Linked DNA regions of Homo sapiens: region 2 is linked to region 1. Evidence: promoter capture Hi-C in 16 types of primary human blood cells and fetal thymus (Javierre and others, 2016). All regions are on one chromosome and are shown on one strand. The core of a region is centred on a gene start or on the middle of the fragment in contact, and the rest is flanking DNA. Distances in the headings are between cores, read along the strand shown. Region 1 holds the start of SLC14A2 (solute carrier family 14 member 2). Region 2 has its middle 350 kb from the start of SYT4.

Region 1 (4,236 bases), core at 1,084-3,583:
TCCTGCCTCAGCCTCCCGAGTAGCTGGGACTACAGGCGCCCGCCACCATGCCCAGCTAATTTTTTGTATTTTTAGTAGAGATGGGGTTTCACCGTGGTCTTGATCTCCTGACCTCGTGATCCGCCCGCCTCAGCCTCCCAAAGTGCTGGGATTACAGGTGTGAGCCACTGCGCCTGGCCAGCAGTTTTTATAACAGTATGAAAACAGACTAATACAGTAAATTGGTACCAAGATAGTGGGACAGTGCTATAAAGATACTTGAAAATGTGGAAGCAAGTAGGGAACTGGGTAACAGGCAGAGGTTGGAACAGTTTGGAGAGCTCGGAGGAAGATAGATAGAAAGATGTGGGAAAGTTTGGAACTTCCTAAAGACTTGCTGAATGATTTTGACCAAAATGCTGATAGTGATATGAACAGTGAAGTCCAGGCAGAGGTGGTCTCAAATGGAGATGAGGAACTTGTTGGGAACTGGAGTAAAGGTCACTCTTGCTATGCTTTAGCAAAGAGACTGGTGGCATTTTGCCACCTCCCTAGAGATCTGTGGAACTTTGAACTTGAGAGAGACGATTTAGGATATCTGGCAGAAGAAATTTCTAAGCAGCAAAGCATTCAAGAGGTGACCTCGGTGCTCTTAAAAGGATTCAATTTTATGCATTTACAGAGAGATTGTTTGAAATTGGAACTTATGTTTAAAAGAGAAGTAGAGCATAAAAGTTGGGAAAATTTGCAGCCTGACGATGTGATGGAAAGAAAAACTCATTTTCTGGGGAGAAATTCAAGCTGGCTGCAGAAATTTGTCTAACCAGAAGCCAAATGTTAATCGCCAAGACAATGGGGAAGATTACTCCAGGGCATGTCAGAGAACTTTGCAGCAACCCTACCATCCTGGGCCCAGAGGCCTAGGAGGAAAAACAATGGGCTGGTCCAGGGCCCCACTACTGCCCTATGCAGCCTCGGGACTTGGTACCCTGCATCCCAGCCATGGCTAAAAGGGGCCAGTGTACAGTTCAGGCCATTGCTTCAGAGGGTGCAAGCCTCAACCCATGGCGGCTTCCATGTGGTGTTGAGCCTGCAGGTGCACAGAAGTCAAGAATTGAGGTTTGGGAACCTCCACTTAGATTTCAGAGGATGTATGAAACGCCAGGATGTCCAGGCAAAAGTTTGCTGCAGGGGTAGAGACCTCATAGAGAACCTCTGCTAGGGCAGTGCAGAAGGGAAATGTGAAGTTGGAGCCCCCACACAGAGTCCCCACTGGAGGACTGCCTAGTGGAGCTGTGAGAAGAGGACCACCGTACTCCAGACCCCAGAATGGTAAATCCACTGTCAGCTTGCACTCTGCACCTGGAAGAGCCACAGACACTCAACACCAGCCTGCGAAAGCAGCAGGAGGAGAGCTATACCCTGCAAAGCCACAGAAGCAGAGCTGCCTGAGTCTGTGGGAGCCCACCTCTTGCATCAGCATGACCTGGATATGAGACATGGAGTCAAAGGAGATTATTTTTGAGATTTAAGATTTAATGACTGCACCACTGGATTTTGGACTTGCGTGGGGCCTGTAGCCCTTTGTTTTGGCCAATTTCTCCCATTTGAAATGGGAGCATTTATCCAATGCCTCCTGCACCCCCACTGTATCTTGGAAGTAACTAACTTGCTTTTTTTTTTTTTTTTTTTTTTGAGACACAGTTTGCTCTGTCACCCAGGCTGGAGTACATTGGCACTATCTTGGCTCACTGCAACCTCCACCTCCCAGGTTCAAGAGATTCTTCTGTCTCAGCCTCCCAGTAGCTAGGACTACAAGTGTGTGCCACCACACCCTGCTAATTTTTGTATTTTTAGTAGAGACAGGGTTTCACCACATTGGCCAGGCTGGTCTCGAACTTCTGACGTCAAGTGATCCACCCGACTCGGCCTCTCAAAGTGCTGGGATTACAGGCGTGGGCCGCCGCACCCGGCCATTTGCTTTTGATTTTACTGGCTCATAGGTGGAAGGGACTTGCCTTGCCTCAGATGAAACTTTGGACTTTGACTTTCAAGTTAATACTGGAATAAGTTAAGACTTTGGGGGACTGTTGCTAAGGCACAATTTTGTTTTGAAATGTATAAAGAACATAATATCTGGGAGGGGCCAGGGGCAGAATGATATGGTTTGGCTCTGTGTCCACACCTGAATATCATCTCAAATTGTAATCCCAGTAATCCCCATATGTTGAGGGCAGGACCCAGGGCAAGGTGACTGGATCATGGGAGCGGTTTCCCCCATGCTGTTCTCGTGATAGTGAGTGAATTCTCACAAGATCTGATGGTTTTATAAGTGTTTGGCAAGTTCCTGCTCCACACCATCTCTCTCTTCTGCCGCCATTTGAGAAGGTCCAAGTTTGCTTCCCCTTCGCCTTCCACCATGACTGTAAGTTTCCTGAGGCCTCCCCAGCAATGTGGAAGTGTGAGTCAATTAAATTTCTTTTTTTTTTTTTTCTAATAAATCACCCACTCTCAGGTAGTTCTTTATAGCAGTATGAGAATGGACTATTGCAGTGGGGGAGCCAGGATTTGAATCCAGGTATTCTGTCTCCACTGTGCCACCACTGTCTAATAACACTAAAATTAACTACCTAGAGCCACCTCGGGGCAGCTTGTGTATATAAGTATGTGTGCATGTGTGTATGTGTAGGGGTGTATGTGTGTGTGTGTGTGTGTGAGAGAGAGAGAGAGAGAGAGAGGGAGAGAGAGAGACTACTACATTGTGAAATAGTCCACCACACAAGCCAGAGCAGAGGTCACCATGCTCCTAAGAGGCCAGGAAGGCACCATGGCCATGTTAGGGGTGGGTGTGTGAGCAGGATGTGTGTGAGTAAAGGAGATCAATATTCGTGCATGTGGAACTGAATTGGAGGTAGCTGTGGGACCTCAGGAGGCCACCTGCCCAGAACAGTGGCACACACTGCAGAGAAGCTGAAAATTGTCTTGGGCACAAGTGGAGCACCCCTGGGTAGAACCGAGGGAGATTGAGAACAGTTGCTATCTTCAGAGCTTTTTAACTTCTCCCCCTAAGTAGCCTCAACTGATGGGAGAATTGACACATTACCCCTACGTAATAGGTGGGCACAGCCTGAAGCAGCCACCTGCAGACTCTACATTTCTTCCCTTTATATTTTATTTTAATAATATAAAGAGTTGCATTTGACTATTTTATAAACCATGTTTGCTTAAATATACAACTATTATTCTATATTAGTTCATATCAAGCTCAATCAGCATTCCAGAAAACTGTGCTTCTCAGTGCCCTGGGCATTGACTACTCTGGCTCAGAGTTTCATGCCCAGTTTCAGGAGCGAAGCACTCAGACATGGAGCACCTCAGAAGGTTTTTGAGCAGTGGCACGACCAAGTCATGTTTTAAGATAATTTACCCATCACCAGTGGCAAGGTGGAGAAAAACTGGGGAGACTGAAGTGAGGGAAATCAGCTAGAAGGTGACCTGCGTTGGGGAGGGCCTGGCTTAAAGGGAGATAATGGGCTGATCCAGACTGAGGGCTCTGAAGGAGAACTCGATGGCTGAATAATTGCAACTGATGGAATGCAAGAGGCAATAAATAAATTGCCATTTATTCATGGGATGAGAGGGCTCAATATGTGGAACATTGAAGGGTCACCCCACTTTAGAAGTGTCACATAAGGACCGGGTGCAGTGGCTCACACCTGTAATCCTAGCACTTTGAAAGACCAAGGTGGGCGGATTGCCTGAGCTCAGGAGTCTGAGACCAGTCTGGGCAACATGATGAAACCCCGTCTCTACTAAAATACAAAAAATTGGCTGGGCATGGTGGTGTGCGCCGGTAGTCCCAGCTACTAAGGAGGCTGAGGCAGGAGAATTGCTTGAACCCGGGAGGTGGAGGTTGCAGGGAGCCGAGATTGCGCCACTGCACTCTAGCCTGGGCAACAGTGGAGACTCCATCTAAAACAAAGAAAAAAGTGTCACATAAGAAGGGTGTGACGATCTCCTATGAGATTCTTCCAAACACAAGCTAAGGAGGAGCATCAAAAGAGGTCAAGTGGTCTGCTCTCTCCCCCACCTCATCTCACAGCCACTGCAGGCTCCTCAGAGCTTTTCTGCTGGAGGCCAGAATTCCCCTGCCAGGCTCTGGTTAGATTCTCAGCTGCAGAACCCCAGCCCTGGCCCTGCAGCAGAAACCAGAAAGATAAAGCCCCTGGCCCACTGGCCACCAGCCATCTCTAACCC
Region 2 (4,236 bases), core at 508-3,007, 2.0 Mb before region 1:
AAACATCATTCTTATCATATATGATTCTTTTACCCGATGACACCTTATATGTTTTCAGTAATTAAAAATTTTTTAAACTTTTAAAAAATATCTATTATTGCATTGTCCTGCTCCACGAAGACTATTTACTCTACCCACTCACCTACTCAAAATTTATATTTGAAATGATTATTTATAATCATTAAAATAATATTTGAGTATCTACACGGTTTGCTATTTTATCTACTCAACAAAGCTAATGCAATTTTAAGTTTGTGCAGTTTATTCCAGGGTAGACTCTGGGAAACCATACTCACATACTTCTGAGAGATACAAATAAATACAAAGATAATTAAGGGCAAGAGAATTTGGTAAATGATATCAGTCCATCCTTGGAAAATTCAATATTTTTTCAGCATGAGATGACATGAGGGTTGGGGCCTAAGTTTCCAAAAACAGTAAGTCCAACAGAGAGATGGGAGAGAGAGGTCATAGGAGGGAATATTCCCTGCAGGGGACCCCATTTTGCAAAAAATGGTGACTTAGGGGAATCTCAGGTAACTTAGTATGACTGGGGCAAAGATTTCAGGTGGGATATAAAATAAATTTAGTCAGAATAAGAGGAGACCAGACCATTAAAAGTCTCAATTCCCAAGCTAAGAAACTTGGAGTGTTCAAAGTACAATACCATGGAGTATAAAGTAGGCAAGTACAAAGCTCAGTCACATCCATTGTACCCTTTGGTCTTCATAAAACCAGATGAGGTGGTCAGGAAAGAATTCTGATAAAAATGTATTAGAGGAAGATACAAAGTATTGGAAGTATTAAGTAATATCCCCCAAGATCATACACCTCTGTTTGGAACAGACCTAGAAAGAGAAAGAGGCTTCTGAGTTATGCTCAATATTCTGCCCAAGACATTCAACAGCCTCATGCCCTACATGCACTTGGCCCGCAAGACATAACCACTTCCACAATTCACTGAGCACCCACTTTGAGTCTGTCAAAGATTAAATCTTTCACATGAAACCTACCCGGAGAGCTATTAAGCCCATCAAACAGACAAGGATGTTGTGACTCTGAAAGTCAGGAAGGTGGAACAAATTTTAGAGAATGAAGGGTTCGAGGAATGTAAATTTTATTGGTCTTAACTTTAGATATGTTTCCTATCCAGCTGTGTCAGGAGCAATGAAATAATGTGCTCTGCTCGCTCTTGATCTTTGGGCATTTGTGGTTGAGAAAGCATTGTGTTTAGAACTATAGAAAAATGACAGAAAATTAAACATTCCTGTAAATTTCAAGCTTTCCTATTTCTTGAATTGACCTTATCTTCAGACTGAAACATCCTCATTTTGTACTCCTAAACAGATCATATGAAGTTCATATTAATATTCATGCCTTACAGATGAGGAAATTGAGATCCAGTGAGGTTAAATCACTTGTACCTACACAGCTAATAAATGTCAGGCAGACAAAGCAAATTGTAGGACACAACGAGTAAGATGTTATTCAGCCTATTTATATGAATAGCATATAAAGATAATAAAGATAGATTATCTTTGTAATATTTCATTTTCTGATTATAAAATAAGGTATCTTCATTGAAATTTGAAAAGAAAATAAATTTTTGTCATCCAAACAACTAAATACTATAACTATATATAATATAAAAGGAAAATATTCTAAAGAAAGTAATGATAAGCACTTAACATTCTATCGCATCAAAGTTTCTCAAAAAACTGTCCTCATCAATAGAAGGCAATAGTAGCAAGTTCACAACATATTTAATGGATATATACTAAAATCATCACCCTACAGCTCTATCACCCTATGATCATCAGCCTACTAATAATTTTTGATTCATGGAAAATATAATAAGCATTTACAAAATTATAAGTCATGCTGTCTATGTTGAATTAAAACTTTAATATCTAAATAAAACAAGAATAAGCACTCATACATTCTAGATAGGGAATATTAAAAATAAAGACAGGACCTGTGAAGTAAACCAAACTTGTACCCGGAGGGAAATTCATTGCTTCCAATGTTCTTTTATTATTTATTACTATTATTATTATTATAAAAATAGAAAATCTAGGAAACATTCCTTTCAAATTAGTGACATTCTAGTTATCACATGACAGGAAAAGATAAGAGAATGACATTAGGAAGATGACAGAATTGCAATAAATATCTCAATCATATTTGAGTGATGTCTTAGAATTCTTTTGAGAGCAAGTGACAAAAACTCAAAGAAGCTTAACCAAGGAAAGTTTTTTTAAAAAAATTCAGTAAATTTTAAAAAAGCTAATAGACATGACAGAATAAATTAAGTAATCAGGGCTATTGTGGACCAATAGGACAGAAAGCACATGGTTGATGCCCTCGCTCCCTTGCTCTATTTTGCTCTCTCTCGCTTTTTTCCCTTGGTTAGTTTCTTCTTCAGGAGACTGCAAAATGGCCAGAATATTCCTCACCTTTTAGATTTTTCACATGAGAAGCAATAGGTTTGTCTCACAAGCTATAGTTCAAACAAGCTTGTGGAAGAATGTTTCAAAGCCTCACTTGAGTCATTTACCATTTCAAAAACAATATATTCTCCTCCCCTTTGGACAAAGGTAAATTTTCATTAAAATTATGGGGAAATCATTCTTGGAAGCCCAAACCAAAGGATGATACCAAGTGTTCCTAAAATGAAATTACGTGATAGAAATAATATAAGATTGTGGAAGTGAGAGCCAACTTTCCACCCTCAGCTTGAACTGGAAGAGATGCTGCACTGAGACATAATAAAAGTACCAAAAACCACCCATAAAAATAAAAGAAAGCAAATAAAGATATAAGATTTAAAAATAAATATACATATACAAATGGAAAACTATGAACTTAATAAATAATGCAGGCCAAGCACAGTGGCTCACACCTATAATCCCAGCATTTTGGGGGACTGAGGTGGGTGACTAGCTTCAGCCCAGGAGTTCAAGACCAGCCTGGACCACATAATGAAACCTCACTTCAACAAAAAATATAAAAATTGGCTGGGCATGGTGGCACACCTATAGTCCCAGCTACTCAGGAGGCTAAGGTGGAAGGATTACTTGAGCCCAAGAGGCTGAGGTTACAGTGAGCCAATATTGGGCCATTGCACTCCAGCCTGGGCAACAGACTGAGACACTGTCTATAAATAAATAAATAAAGCAATATGTGGTTCTTTGTATGTTGTATGGTTTTATTTGTAAATAAAATATATTTTAATATTTAATATTATATTCTTTGTATTGTATTATTTGTAAATAAAGTATATTATAAAATATTTAATATATTATGTTCTTTGTATTGTATAATTTTATTTGTAAATAAAATAATACAATAAGAAAATACATGACAATTTGAAAAAGTTTATATAAAGATAGAGAAATGATTAAAAAACAATTACTTTTCAAAAATTTAGTAAACATAAAGAAGACAGAAAGCTATCTACATACTGTATGCATTTAGAGTAGCATCAGTCCTCACATAAGGGTCTGGGGCTTCAACTAATAACCCAGATTTTACTGTTTCCTTTCATCTATTTCTTTTCTCTCCTCCAACTCCTTTTAGAATACCTCTACACCAATCCATCTGAGAACCCCCCAGAATGTCTCATATGCATTTGTGTCTACCCACAAGTCTAGTAAGCTTTCCAGTTAGTTACTGTGTGGCATTGGTGTTTCTTTCCTCTCTGGGCTTCTGGTGTTGAGTACCGATAGCTGCACTGGACTTCATGGTCTTCCAGGAAGGACCGAGGCCTCTTGCCGGGCATCTTCCAGCTTCTCCTCTTTCATCCAGAAAGCACCTTCTTCTGCCGGAGCCCACTTTAGCTAGGAATTGGCATCCAGGAGATGAAAAGCTAAATGTTTCTGGTTTCAATAGGAACCCTCTGAGACACCACAGTGGTGCTGCTCACATCCCAATGTCTTAGTGACTTTAGGAAATAAAGCAGCTCTGTAATTTTTTTTCTTACATCCTCGCTATTCAACACCATACTCAGTACATAAATCCAGATGGGATCCGGACAGTAAAATAAATCTGAATGACAGATAATGTGCTGTCCTCAAAAATGACTCTCCTCCTTTTCAACTGAAAGAAGACATTTGTTTATTTCAGTGAAAACGAGTTCATTATTATCTGTTCCTACTTCCTTGGGAGTGATTATTCTGTCAGATACATGCTAAGTGCAAATTTTCTGCATAGCAGAAACCGGGTCTTGAATCCAGG

What was found. Contacts are between HindIII fragments. The CHiCAGO score rates a contact against its expected background, and 5 or more counts as called.
Region 2: a contact is called between a fragment that was not itself captured here and the fragment with the promoter of SLC14A2 in region 1, in 1 of 17 cell types (endothelial precursors). The highest score is 5.3, in endothelial precursors.

Annotation. Positions count from the first base shown.
Region 1 is chr18:45,613,143-45,617,378 of GRCh38, forward strand. It overlaps SLC14A2 (solute carrier family 14 member 2), which reads left to right and starts at 2,334. Exons shown (of 20, transcript NM_007163.4): 1 at 2,334-2,440. All of the region lies in intron 8 of LOC105372093 (a long non-coding RNA gene), which reads right to left. The HindIII fragment of the contact is 14,354 bases long and covers 1-4,236 here.
Region 2 is chr18:43,621,269-43,625,504 of GRCh38, forward strand. No RefSeq gene overlaps it. Among named protein-coding and RNA genes, the nearest start is that of SYT4, 350 kb to the left of the region's middle. The HindIII fragment of the contact is 956 bases long and covers 1,280-2,235 here.